Linked DNA regions of Homo sapiens: region 1 is linked to region 2. Evidence: promoter capture Hi-C in human tissues and cell types (Jung and others, 2019). All regions are on one chromosome and are shown on one strand. The core of a region is centred on a gene start or on the middle of the fragment in contact, and the rest is flanking DNA. Distances in the headings are between cores, read along the strand shown. Region 1 overlaps LOC105377999 (a long non-coding RNA gene). Region 2 holds the start of TMEM244 (transmembrane protein 244).

What was found. Contacts are between HindIII fragments. The study calls those that stand out against the background at their distance.
Region 1: a fragment that was not itself captured here is called in contact with the fragment with the promoter of TMEM244 in region 2 in 2 of the 25 tissues and cell types used here (adrenal gland and hippocampus).

Annotation. Positions count from the first base shown.
Region 1 is chr6:129,935,796-129,942,496 of GRCh38, forward strand. It overlaps LOC105377999 (a long non-coding RNA gene), which reads left to right. Exons shown (of 8, transcript XR_942986.3): 6 at 1,817-1,929; 7 at 2,046-2,229. Among named protein-coding and RNA genes, the nearest start is that of TMEM244, 78 kb to the left of the region's middle. The HindIII fragment of the contact is 3,052 bases long and covers 3,308-6,359 here.
Region 2 is chr6:129,858,170-129,865,264 of GRCh38, forward strand. It overlaps TMEM244 (transmembrane protein 244), which reads right to left and starts at 3,146. Exons shown (of 5, transcript NM_001010876.2): 1 at 2,987-3,146. The coding sequence starts at 3,019. It overlaps LOC105377999 (a long non-coding RNA gene), which reads left to right. Exons shown (of 8, transcript XR_942986.3): 2 at 1,161-1,256. RefSeq lists a silencer at 5,455-5,749. The HindIII fragment of the contact is 10,214 bases long and covers 496-7,095 here.

The DNA.
Region 1 (6,701 bases), core at 3,584-6,083, 79 kb after region 2:
CATATTATAAACTTTACATTAATTATTCCATACTTTTACTGCATTCAAATGCCTCTATACGACTTGTACATTTATGTACATACTCTGCAGGATATTTTAATTTTGTCATTATTTGGTTTATAAACATGCAATTATGCTAATACAAATTTTTTTTGCTTTTTATATTTTCATTTAACAATACTTTGGGAAAATACCTCTAAGTAAAACTGTGTGATTCTAACTCATTTTTCTAATGGCTCCTAAATTTTGTTGTATCAACAAAAATTTTGCTAAGCAAAAATCACAGCATAGAAAGTTACAGGGACCTAAAGAAGGAAAATTGTACTTAGTCAAGATTTTATAAATATATTTTGGATATGTATATGCATGAACTTTAAAGTGACATTAAGAGGTACATTTTACTCCATAAAATTTGTTGTTGTGGAAATTAAATATATGAATGTATATGTACTTCTTTTGCTTATATACTTATGTATCTATATTATATATAATTTTGTATATGTATTACATAAATATATTTTTTATATATTAGAGATACCTATCATATATTATATATTTATGATATTTATTTATATTATTTATATATCTTATATGAGGTAAATATATATTTATATATTACATAAATGTATAGTATATATAAGCATATACTATATATGTGTAATATGTGTATACTATATATTGTGTATATATCTATACACACACATAGAGAAAGTGAGAGAGACAGAGAGAACAGAGCCAAGTGATAGGAAGTACACTCTATTCCTGGCTCAGTAACAGACTGTGTGGAAGTGGGGGAATAATTTCACTCTGTGGACTTCAGTTATCTCTCCTGTAAAATGGAGGATAGAGTCAGGACATAGACGGCTCTTCCGACGAGGTCAGAGTTCCTCAAGGCAATTTAGGAGGAATCCAAGGTTTGCCAAGGCTTTGCATTCACCAGCTGACATGGCGCCACCACGTGGTAATAGTGTAAACAATTTAAAATGTATTGGATCCGTCAGCTTTTAAACATGATTCATCAATGTTTAATTTGAGGAATTAAGATTATTTAAACTTTGGTGCATAAACTGAGACTTTATTAATATGTTTATTTTTCACTATTTGAAATTTGCATAAAATGTGACTACACTGTATAGACAGGGAAGTTTTGAAATCTAACATTGTTTCTGTAACACAGAGTAACAACCAACTACATTTAAAAATGGGGAAAATATGATAATAGAAGAATTATTCACATCAGAAAGTATATTTTAAACAACAATATACAACATCTTTAATAGCCATATGGTTAAAAAAACTTTTCAAAATGCCTAAAGTTCCTGAAATTAGTTTAGTGAGTGGGGTAAGCGCAGAGTTGGGTGAAAAGACACAAGAGTACCTCAAGAACTTTTATTGTTAATATTATATTATCGTTTAGACTTCAAAATATTTGGGATTTACACTAAACTGAAGCACATTACACAATCTAGTAGTGAGATAGTAAGTAGAATCAAAATAGAGTATCAATTTTGTTTATTTAATATTTACATACGTATTGTCGTTTATTGAAATAACTGTATCAACTCTTGCTGCTTTTAGATATTTGATTCGTTTTTTTAGTAAATTATTAATTTTAGTACAGTTTTAGATTCACAGAAAATTTGCAAAGAAATGAATTTCCATATACCCCGTACCCAATTTTCTATGTTAGCATCTAACATTACCATGGCTCATTTGTCATAACTAAATAACAAACATTGATACATTATTATTAATTAAAATTTGTACTCTATTCAGATTTGCTTAATTTTAATCTAATGTTCTTTTTCTGTTCCAGGATGGCATATTACATTTAGACATTATGTCTTCTTGTGTTCCTCTTGGCTGTGACAATTTCTCCGATTTTCCTTATTTTTGAAGGCTTTGGCAGTTTTGAAGAGTATTAGTCAGGTATTTTGTTGACCGTTCCTCAATATGGGATTGTGAGATGTTTTTCTCATGATTGGACTGGGGTTCTGGTTACTTGGAAGGAAGACAACAGAGGTAACGTACCATTCTCTTCACAGAACATCAAGTATTCATACTGTCAACATGACCTGTTACTATTAATAACCATGATCTTCTGTTAACCTTGATCATCTGGCCAACGTAATGTTTTCCAGATTTCTCCATTGGAAAGTTACTCTTTTTCCCACTTTGCCTGTAATACCCTTTGGAAGGAAGTCACTATGCAAAACCCACACTTAAGAGGTAGGTAGAGAGCTATACTCACTTCCTTAAGTAGGAACTATGAGCATAAGTTACCCAGAATTCCGTATATTTGTCTCTTTTCCACATTTGTTTATTTATTCAGCTATTTATATTGGAAGAACTCATGAATATTTATTTTATACTTTGGATTACAATCCGTTACTACACTATCTATCTTGATGCTCAAATTGTTCTAGTTTGGGCCATTGGGTGTTCCTTGAGGTTGACTTCTCCTTTCCCTTTGACACACTCCCATCGTTTTGGTTTTGAAGCACTTCTTTACTTCCTGACACTACAAGATGCTCCAAGCTCATCTTGTATATTTCCTGCCCCAGTCTTAGAATCAGCTATTTATTCACGTTCTGGTTCATTTCATTTGAGAATGGTATTAGAAACCAACCAAGATGTGGGCACGAGGCGTGACTTTTGTTGACTTTGGATCCTCCCTCTGTATGTATTTACATAAACGCTTTCCTCTCCATGTCCTGATCATCTTAAAACTGAGCTTGTTTTAAATAGAGCTTTGAAATTTTTAAGAATAGTTTAGTCAATAAGACTTCTTGCACTCTTGCTAACTATTGTTTCAATTATTGCTACTGTTAACACCACTACTCCACTAATGGTAAAGTTTGTCACTCTCAAATATGAATTCCGGATAAAAGCTTTCTGGAGAAAAATATATGAATTATTTACGCACTTTTCCTCACTACATTCCTTTTCACTAAATCAGCAGCCAACAAATATGTGTCTCTAAGGGAATAAACAGAGCTGTGTGTACATATGCATACAGGTGTTTCCCTTTAGGCTTCTTATTGGAGCACATTGCTAGAAGAAATCTGCCAAAATTATTAGACTTTGATTCACTTGCAAGCAACACCTGTGTGTTCTCTTCATCTTTACATTTCCAAGGCTTAGCTCAATGCTTGATACATTCCAGAGGTTTCCTAAAGGTTTGCCGAATAAATTGCAGAGCCCCCTGGAACATGGTGAAGTTTACCATCAATCATTTAAATGCATCTCAGGGTTTGTTTTGTTGTTGCTGTTGTTGTTGTTGTTGCTGTTGTTCTTGTTTTGGGGGGGATTTTTTGTGATAAGTTTTTGTTGTACTTTATCTGCTTGTTTTTGCTTAGGAAGGCTTCAGTGACAGTAGTTAAAGAAATTGTGGTCACTATCACATTTTTTTTTTTTTTGGTAGAAACTGATTTCATCTCTCTGATACTGTTTTATCTGAGCCATGGTAAATTAATCACAGTTTTAGGCTTCTTCTTCACTGGTAAAATAAAGCCCAAACTGCTCATTTAAGAGAAAATGCTTGGCCAAAAGAAGCCTGTAAAACCAGAGTGTGCTTTTCCTTGATTCACAGTAAAACATGAACCCTTTATTTGAGCTCTTTATGACATGGAAAAGCATTTCTATGTATTGTGTTGAATAAGCTATTCTTCCCCCGGATGGTATTGAATTTAATTAGAAGAAAATATCTTCATGAAAATAAAGCTTTAATGATATACTGCTTCATTTTAAGACCATAAGTCATCGTATCCTCTAAATGGTGGGATAATGATGCTGAAACAAAACACTAAAGAGGGAAAAAGTTATTCATTTGGTGTTCAGTCTTTCTGTGGAAAACGTGTGTTTTTATTCTTTATCTTCCTTATATTTTTACTTCCAATTTCCCACTTAAAAGAAGATTCTCTTGTATGTTCTATTTTAATTTTACTCTAGATTCAGTACAATTTCATAAAATGAAATTCATTTAAATATAATTCAGGAACCAAGCCATCTTGAATGAAAGTATTTTGAGACAGCACTCAGGGTTTCAATATAAACACCGCCATCATCCATCCATTCATTCATTCATCCACCTATTAAAAATCTGTGTGTCTGTTGCCATCCTGGTGCTGAGAAAACATGAGTGGGAAAGAGAGATTCATCACCTCAGCAATTCGCAGGGAAGAAGGAAAAAGAAACTGAATAACGTAGTAGGATGGTCCTAGCTGAGTGAAAGAGAGCATGAGACCTGGATATGACCTGAAGTCTGGTTATATAAGAGTTTGTATGAGATAGCCTCCAAAGATAAAGTATTGTGCACAAGTGTACAACAAACGGGGTAGGTGAGAACTGAGACAACCTGCAGTCTTGTCTCTGGGCACTAGTGTTTTTCTTTTTCTGTCTTCTCTTTTTAAATAACAATTAACATTTATCAAGTGTTTGCCCAAATCTGGACACTGATCTGAATATTTTGTGTGTTCTTAGTTAATACTTCATTCTTCACAACAGCTCGTCACAACACTTGGTGCACTGAGACAGATTCTGTGTTGCCTGGAGTAGGCATTGTAACTCTCATTTCCATTTTGCAGATAAGGAAACAGAAGCACAGAGAGTTTACATAATTTCACTAAGATCATGCATCCCCAAGTGTTGTAGCCAGGATGTAAACCCAGGCAGCATGCCCCAGAGCCTTCCTCCTGCTCTAATAATGGTCTGCACTACTTGAGCTTTAAGGAGAGGGGAGCAGCAGGCACAAGCAGAAGGAGTTGTTTTTCCAAAGGGCTTCATGAGACAGGTAGAATCAGTGAAGAGGGGAGTGTGGGGTGCACACAGTGCTTCTTAGGTCTGTCAGGTGGCAACAGGTGACCTAGAGTCGGAGATTGAATCTAGCCTCGCTCCTTGAGAGTGACGGGGTCGGGAGCCCTGAAATCCACACATCTCAGAATGGATACCATTATCATTTGGAACAATGGTGGCCCTGAGACATTCTCTGGAAACTTCAGAAGCCCAAGGATAGTGACAAAGAGGGAGAGATGTTGGGAGGAATCAGGGTACGGATGGCATGGATCAAGAAAATAAGTGTAACCTAGAAGATACTCTCTGGGAACTGTTCATGATGCTGGGTGTGTTGATACAGCTTAAAGGTTATTTCAGTGTGGGGGACGCTTTGATGGCCTTGTCAAAAGTGTGTAAGCATTGCTTTGTTAGTTATTGATTTGTTTTCCCAAGCAGTGCATATGACATCCCTGAACCTTTCTCTGCTTTCTAGGTACACCATGATTATGAGAGATTTATGTTTTTCACTTCATTGAGCATGGTTTAAATGTTTATAGGTCTGTATTACTTTCATAAACTGAAAATAAAAATCTCTCATAATTTGATAGAATTGGGTTAACTGCTAAGAAAATAACAGTGCTTTATTTTAAAAAAAAGCTTCAAAATAGTAATCATAGTTTAAGAATATTGTTGACGTGAGAGAGACATGTCAGAAATTTAATTGAGCCTTACTATGCAGTCCAGATTTAAGACCAAGGGATCATACAGGTGGACCAAATAGTCACCTTCTCAGTGTCTTTAAGGCATAGATGAGAAAACTTGAGGTGTTTCACTGAAGATGCAGGTGAACTCTCAGACATGAGCAGATGTATTGCTTGGAATGACTGATGGCCTTTTCTGAGATGAGTGAGTGTAGTAAGCTGATTTCATGACTGTGCTTCTGCCAAAGGCTCCAGCCTAGTTCTCCTCTCATCTCTAAGCCCCTTCCCTCTTAGACTACCACTCTATCCGTGAAGGTAAAAATAATAGGTTGAGTTTTTCTCAAAAGCAGGGCAAAGGAGTTCATTTTCCCCTTACCTAGCAATACAAATTGTTAAAAGAAAAAGAATAAACTGGAATAAGGCTGTATTCAAATGTCTCATCAAAATGTCCCTGCCTTGGGAAATGCTTTGCCAAAGTGACCATTTCCAAGTCTCTGAAGTCAAAACAGCTGCATCTTAGTGGCTGCCTCAAAATCGTGGTATGAAAATGACTGTCAAAACAGCCCCATCAAAATGTCATGTACTTGGAGCCCATGTGAGATGCTCTGTAGACATCTCTGGGCATAATGGGACAGGAATCTCATAATGGGTTCCCCTTTGTATCCACAGTCCCTTGAAGCTTCGAAATACCCGTATTAAAATGATCACACCACGAAATAATCTGTACAGCCAACTCCCACGACACATCTTTATCTATGTAACAAGCCTGCACATCCTGCATCTGTGCCCCTGAACTTAATAGTTAAAAATAATAATAATAAAATAAAATTATCCCACCAACTAAGCATCAGGGAAAAAGTAAGCAGAAGCTTTTACAGGAGGAAAACTCCAGGAGGAGAAAGCTTCCTGTGGGAAGGGACATGGCCTGGGGATTGGAGAGATGGGGGTGCCTTGGAGAAGGGGCAACAGGGAGGAAGAAGGTATTCCAGGCAGAAAGGACAATGAACACAGAGACAGGAATGAGAAACTGAATGGGACGATGGCCACAACATACAGGTATTTCAGGTTGCTCACTATCCAACCTTTACTGAGCACCTACTGTATGCTTTAGCATGTTGTCCCCATCATTTTGGAGAGGACATAGTCAATCTAGTACATGGTACAATCTTTTTTCCTTCCACTCAGCAACAGCAAAATACATCTGGCTCCCGAAACAGTATGGTTTTC
Region 2 (7,095 bases), core at 1,896-4,395:
TCTATAGTTTATTTTTTGTACTATATTTATATGGTTTAGGTGACAACATATTTCTTGTTTCATAAAACTTTCTTGTGGCTTTTCTTGTTTTTCTATACTCAAATGATTTAAGTAGCATTGGGAGTATATGATCTTTGAAGACTTAGGAGAATTCTTTTGTGAAATCTAGGCCTAGTCCTTCTGTAATAGCCTTCTCCATTTAGTCTATGGAAACTGGAAGCCCTTGTGTGATTTTGCAAAGCAGAATGTTCCCATTGCCTACAGTAGCTTCACTCTTCTTTACAGAGCAAGTAGCTATATTCTCTAGGTCTGGCTCATATATCATCTTCTCACTCCACCCCTCACTGCAGGACAGAATCAATCTCTATCTTATTTTAATTGCTTCCATAATATTATATTTGTCTTATAGATCTCATCAAATTTGTATTGTAGCATACCTACTTTTGGAGGTATACATTTCTTTCTCCAGTCTCTAAAAGACAGACACTGATTTGACCACATTTAATTCTTCAGCCCCCAAAATATTGGTCAGGCTTTCATAGGTATTCAATAAATATATTTTGAATAATAATCATGGAAGGAAGGAAAGAAATAATGGAAGACAAGACCACTATAGTAGGAACCATAGTCTTTTTTTTTTTTGAAACAGAGTCTTGCTCTGTCACCCAGGCTGGAGTACAGTGACACAATCTCAGCTCACTGTAACCTCTGCCTCCCGGCTTCAAGGAATTCTCTTGCCTCAGCCTCCCTGAGTAGCTGGGACTACAGGTGTGCACCACCACACCCAGCTAATTTTTGTATTTTTAGTAGAGATGGGGTTTCACCATGTTTACCAGGCTGGTATCGAACTCCTGACCTAAAGTGATCGTCCGGTTTGGCCTCCTAAAGTGCTGGGATTACAGGCATGAGCCACCACGCCTGGCCGGAACCATAGTCTATTAATAAAGTATGTGGACTCTAAGTCAGATCCACTGGAGTTTCTCCCCCAGTTCATCACTGACAAGTGTGTGACATTGGCTGGTTACTTTCTGAGTTTTGTTCTACTCATCTACAGGTAAAGTTTCATAAGGGATTTGTATTCTGAACATGTATACAATTCTTAACATTAAGTACTGTATGTTCCCAATAGATAATACTTTCTCTCTTACTTCTCCCCATAGGAAAGACTGCATTGTAGTTCTTTGGACAATTCCTGGAGAAATCATGAGATATGACTCTCTCACTTGTAGAATCACAGCAAAGGCTCCGTCCTACTGGTAAGTAGTTCCCTCTGAAATTGCCTGAATGAATGAAATTCTCCAGTTCAGGTGAACAACTCTGAGGATATGCAGGAATGTGTTGTGCTTCTGAGATTTTTACAACATTTGTTTTACAGAGGAAAGTTTACATTAGTTTAACATAGTTAGGAAACATGCCGTCTACTGGAGTAGAATACATTGTATTCTGAACAGTTTAGCAGTCCTCATACTTGGGCTTTCTTCCCAGTTCTTGTGCTATTTTCCCAGACAGCAAATTAATTAAATGGCCTTTGGCCATGACTCTTTCCCTTGAGTCAGCTTTTCTGTCATTTAAAGTGTACAGATAGGGGGGATTTAATTAGCCCAATGCCTGGCACATTGCATGCACTCAATAAATGTTTGTTGAGTATTCGAGTTATCTCTAGATGAAGGTCACTTTTGCTATTACTATTAATTTATAAGCATATCAGTAATTCTTGTGCTGATAATATTGACAGTGAACAAGCACTTAAAAGAAAAGTTAACTCATAACTTATAGGGATGTATCATGAGAATTCAGATAGTCAACAACCTATCTATTTTGAACATATTCACTATTCTTCTAATGTTCTAAGGCTCTAATTCTACACTTGAAGCTCAGATGATTCTAAGATAGTGAGGAACTGCAGCAACTATCTGGATATTTTCTCTGCAATGCGTGTGTGTGTGTGTGTGTGTGTGTGTGTGTGTGTGTGTGTGTGTCTGTCTGTCTGGTCTGTGTAAGCCCCGACTAAATATAGAGCCCCCATTCTTTGTGTAAGCTACTTAAGAGAAAGGATTTTATCTTCTAATTTTTATCTCTTCAGCAGAAGTTATTATTGCTAGTTCAATCCCAAATCTATACATAAATTACGAAGTTTAATAACCCCTTAAAAATAAGCTTTTTAAAAATATTTTTCCTGAAATAATGTTTTACTGACCTTGAAAATTTTTCTTAGCTGTTGTCATGCTCAACATTTCTCACTGATGACATATGTGGTGATGATGGTAGTGTAAAGAAAAAGCTTGAGGAAATACACACGGTGCTGATATTTTACTAAAATGAATGTAGCACTCACTCATAATTGTAATTTAATTTTTAAGTAAAAATCTGATTTTCCACTATCATTCCCTTAAGTCTGGCTCATTATAGGCCTAAAGCCTGTATGAATTTACACAGCTGCTTTGAGGCTTTGCATATTTCCTTGTTTTCGATTGTTTGATTTTTTTTTAAAGGGGTATTTTTGCACTGAAGTAAAACACAACTATTAACACTAGCCTCGGGGGAAAAAGAAACTAACAAACCTACAGCTTGAAATGTTTCAACACTTTGCATTTAAAATTTTGCGCACCCTTTAGAAGTTACAAAAATAAAAGCCACTCCCTGCAAAAAAAAAAAAGAAAAAAAGATTGAGAACAAACTGTCATGATTTCAGAAAACGATAGCAGACGTGCAGGTGCTAATACCAGAGAGCTTACCTCCGAATAAAATGGTGCCTTCTAAACAGCGACTATTTACATGTTTTAGAATCCTTTCTTGGGCATGGGTGCCTTTATATTGCCCTATTACCACAAGATGCAAGCCGTGCAGCAGAATGTTTTCTGTATGGTACCCAGCCAAAAGTGAAACAAGTTGCCCACTGACAGAGAGGCCATTTATAGAACATATTCATTTACACCAGTGCTAGGCAGCAACTGAAAGGCAATGCAAAGAAGTAATTTCTCTTTACCTTGCTTGGAGCAACTCTGACCTGGAGAGCCATGTACACATCCTACGTCAAGGAGGTGATGAAAGCCCCACTCCTTATAGCGATGACATCTGGAAGAAGACACAATTGTCACCGTGAGCTTTTCAATTACTCCTGGAGACTAAGTGTGAGACGCAGTAGTGCAGGATGATTGGATTACGCAAAACGAGACAGATGCCATCTGTGAGCCACGCGTAAGCTGCTAAGTGCCAAAATGAACATCCTTATTAAACGATGGAGTTCTCATACCATTTGTAGTTTGGTCAGATTTGAAAGATGAGTTGATTGTTTTTAGATAGTGCGGCAAATAGGCAGGGACTTGGAATCCTCTCTGGCTGTATGAGTAATTACTGTCTCATACTTAAATTAGAAACATGGGTTTTCAGTTAGGTCTTGAGATTGTTTCCAAAGGATGCTGCTGCATTCATGTTGAAGCGTGGCCTGTCCTCTCTGTTTCACTCACAAGGGCCACAGAGTTCTGAGAAAGAAATCATCAGTTCCTTTCACATCATGGCAAAGAAATGTAAAACTTATGACTTTTTGTTAGGAAACAAAAGGGTTCCCATACTCTAAAATAATGGCCACAATATTGTGGGTAGAATGTTTTCAAGAACTGCCAGGAGGCAGTATTGGAGCTCTGTCTCTCTGCGTCCTGAGGCTCCAGAACCAATCCTTCATTTACAATTCATTCTCCCATCTTTTTACTGGCACCAACTCTATTATTATTTTTATTTTAATTTTTAATTGCTGTGATTACATAGTAATATAGTAATATACCCCATAGAGTTTATGGGGTACATGATATATTTTGATATAGGCATCTAATATGTAATGATCACATCAAGGTAAGTGGGATTTCCATCACCTCAAGCATTTATTCTTTGTGTTACAAGCAATCCAATTATACCCTTTTAGTTATTTTTAAATGTACAATTAAATTATTATTGACTATAGTCACTCTGTTGTGCTATCAAATACTAGATCTTATACATTCTCTCTCTTTTTTGTATGCATTAACCATCCCCACACTCCCCCTTTTCTCCCACTACCCTTCCCAGCTTCTGGTAACCATTCTTTTACTTTCCATCTCAATGAGTTCAATTGTTTCCATTTTTAGTTCCCACAAATAAGTAGGAACATATGAAGTTTGTCTTTCTGTGCCTGGTTTATTTCACTTAACATAAGGACCTCCAGTTCCATCCATATTGTTGCAAATGACAGGATTTCATTCTTTCCTTTGGCTGAATTCTATTCTGTACCTGTACCACATTTCTTTATCCACTTGTCTGTTGATGGACATTTAGGTTGTTTCTTAATCTTGGATATTGTGAAACATGCTGCAATATACATGGGCATGCAGATACCTCTCCGATAGACTGATTTCCATTCTTTGGGGTATATGCTCAGCAGTGGGATTGCTGGATCATATGGCAGTCCTATTTTTCTCTTTTGAGGAACCTCCAAACTGTTCTCCATAGTGGCTGTACTAATTTACATTCCCACCAGCAGTGTATGAGGGTGTCCTTTTCTTCACATCCTCACCAGCATTTGTTATTGCCTGTTTTGGGATAAAAGCCATTTTAACTGGGGTGAAGTCATATCTCTTTGTAGTTTTGATTTGCCTTTCTCTGATGATCGATGATGTTGAGCACTTCTCACATACCAGTTTGCCATTTGTATGTCTTGTTCTGAGAAATGTCTATTCAGATATTTTGATCATTTTTAAATCATATTATTAGATTTTTTCCTCTACAGTTGTTTGAGCTCCTTATATATTCTGGTTGTTAGCCCCTTGTCAGATGGGTAGTGTTTGAGTATTTTTTTTCCCATTCTGCGGGTTGGTGTCTTCACTTTGTTGATTGATTGCTTTGCTGTGGCACCAACTTTAGATGGGAACTTAGCTGTGCCCTGTAATCCTTTTTCCATTACAGCATCTTGTTAACCGCTATAAAGAGCACATTCTGCAATATCTACCTGCATACCAAAAGCAAAGGTGAAAAGAGTGCCTTCAGCAAGTCCAGGCCTTGATAGTTTTCATCTGAATATGTTATTGAATTTGACATTCATAATGCATATTAATAACACTGTCAATGCTCTTTTATTAATATACCTTAGATAAATCTTTTAATGTGTGGTTGCCCTGTTCTCTGCTTATATTGTGAGTTCTTGCAGAAAAAGACTTTTCTGCCTGCTGGTAACATTGTAACAGCTCCCAGTGTTGTCTTCAGATTTCAGCACACGGTGGACCCTCAGTAAATGCTGATTGTCCAAATCCCATGCCCTGCCCTATTTGTAACAGTGATGACCCAGAATTTCTCCTTAAAGAGGGCAGGCGGAGGCCAGGTGTGGTGGCTCATGCCTGTAATCCTCGCACTTTGGGAGTCAGAGGCAGACGGATCACAAGGTCAGGATTTCGAGACCAGCCTGGCCAACATAGTGAAACCCCGTCTTTACTAAAAATACAAAAAATTAGCTGGGCATGGTGGCGGGCACCTGTAATCCCAGCTACTCAGGAGGCTTAGGCAGGAGAATCGTTTAAACCAGAAGGCAGAGGTTGCAGCGAGCCGAGATCGCGCCATTGCACTCCAGCCCTGGCAACAATGAGGGAATCCGTCTCAAAAAAAAAGGGGGGCAAGTGGAACTTCCTGGGAGTCATAGCACAGCATAAAGCAGAGGATTTGTGCCTGACTCACTCTACTCCCAACACAGGCTGCTTTGTGCACAACTCAGATGCCTTCTGAGTTACTCAGGTAAACAATAACCACCCAAAAACTATCCTCTCAGGAAGTTGGCACCATACATTGGGAACTAATACTCCAGCACTCTATTGGATAAAATACTGAAAAGTACTAATTTTCTATAATTACATTGGAAAAAAATTTGATGACCAATAGTCTAATGAGTAGAGATTATGTGTGTATGGGTATTTACATCTATAATAAGCATCTTTTTTTTTTTTCATCAGAGACACCGCACTGGATTTAAGCATTATTTTTTGAACTGCTACTGTGATCTATTGCGAGAATAAGGCATGAGGCATACACATACACATTTAGCAACTACAATTCTGATTTCCAAGTCTGTCATTAGGCTGATGAAATATTTACATGTGTACATTTTATATGTATATGTGTGTGTATATATATATATTGTGTGTACATGTATTCATTCAGCACATACTTATGATAAAGAATAAAATACATAAAACTCTTCACATTCTTTAGTTCTGAATTGTTCTCCTTGATATTTCATCATGTTTTAAATTATTTTCAGTCCCTTTGTGTAATTTGTATCTAGAGTTCTCCTTTGTTTGTTAAAATTGGACTCAGCTACTTCCTTCATGATAGAGGCACAAAAACTTCAAGGTCCTAAAGAAATATTTCCAAGATTGTAGCACATAATTTAGAATTTCTCCTTGATAAAATCAAAGGAGAAAATGAGCTCAGATCCACAATTACTAATTGCAAATCGTTAGGGCCAGATAGGCTTCTAATTTCAGAAAATTTTGAATTTTATTTAAATAATAGGATCCATATAGTATATTATATCCCATGTCCAAGTAGTCTAGAACTTCCCTCTGTATCCAAACATTGTTTGAGCAGCAAAATGTATAAATATTTGCCATGAGTGGGATGAATAAAAACTAAATAATTTTGTCAATTTGGTTTCATCACCAAATTCATTAACGTCTGGTACTATTCTGTCACCCAAGGATAATAAATAATAAAATAGTTTCCACAGATTTTTAGATTTTTGGATTCACAAAAGGAGTAGTGGACAAACACAGATTTAATTATAAGAATCTACAGATTGGCATTGATAATAGAACTCTTGCTAAATTAAATTAAATTTGGCCTAAAGCAGCCTCTGCACATTAAAAAACTGCAGCCTAACTTAAGAGCATATTCTTATAACAAGTTGCTGAGCCTCGGCCAATCACAGCAGCTGAGCTTTGGCCAATCACAGACTGCCAACCAATTAGAGCGTGTCTATATCAGGCAAATACTAAGCTGTAGCCAATCAAGCTGTTTCTGTATGTCATTTCCTTTTCCTATCTAATACTGCCTCCCCGTGTTGGGTGGAACTCTCTG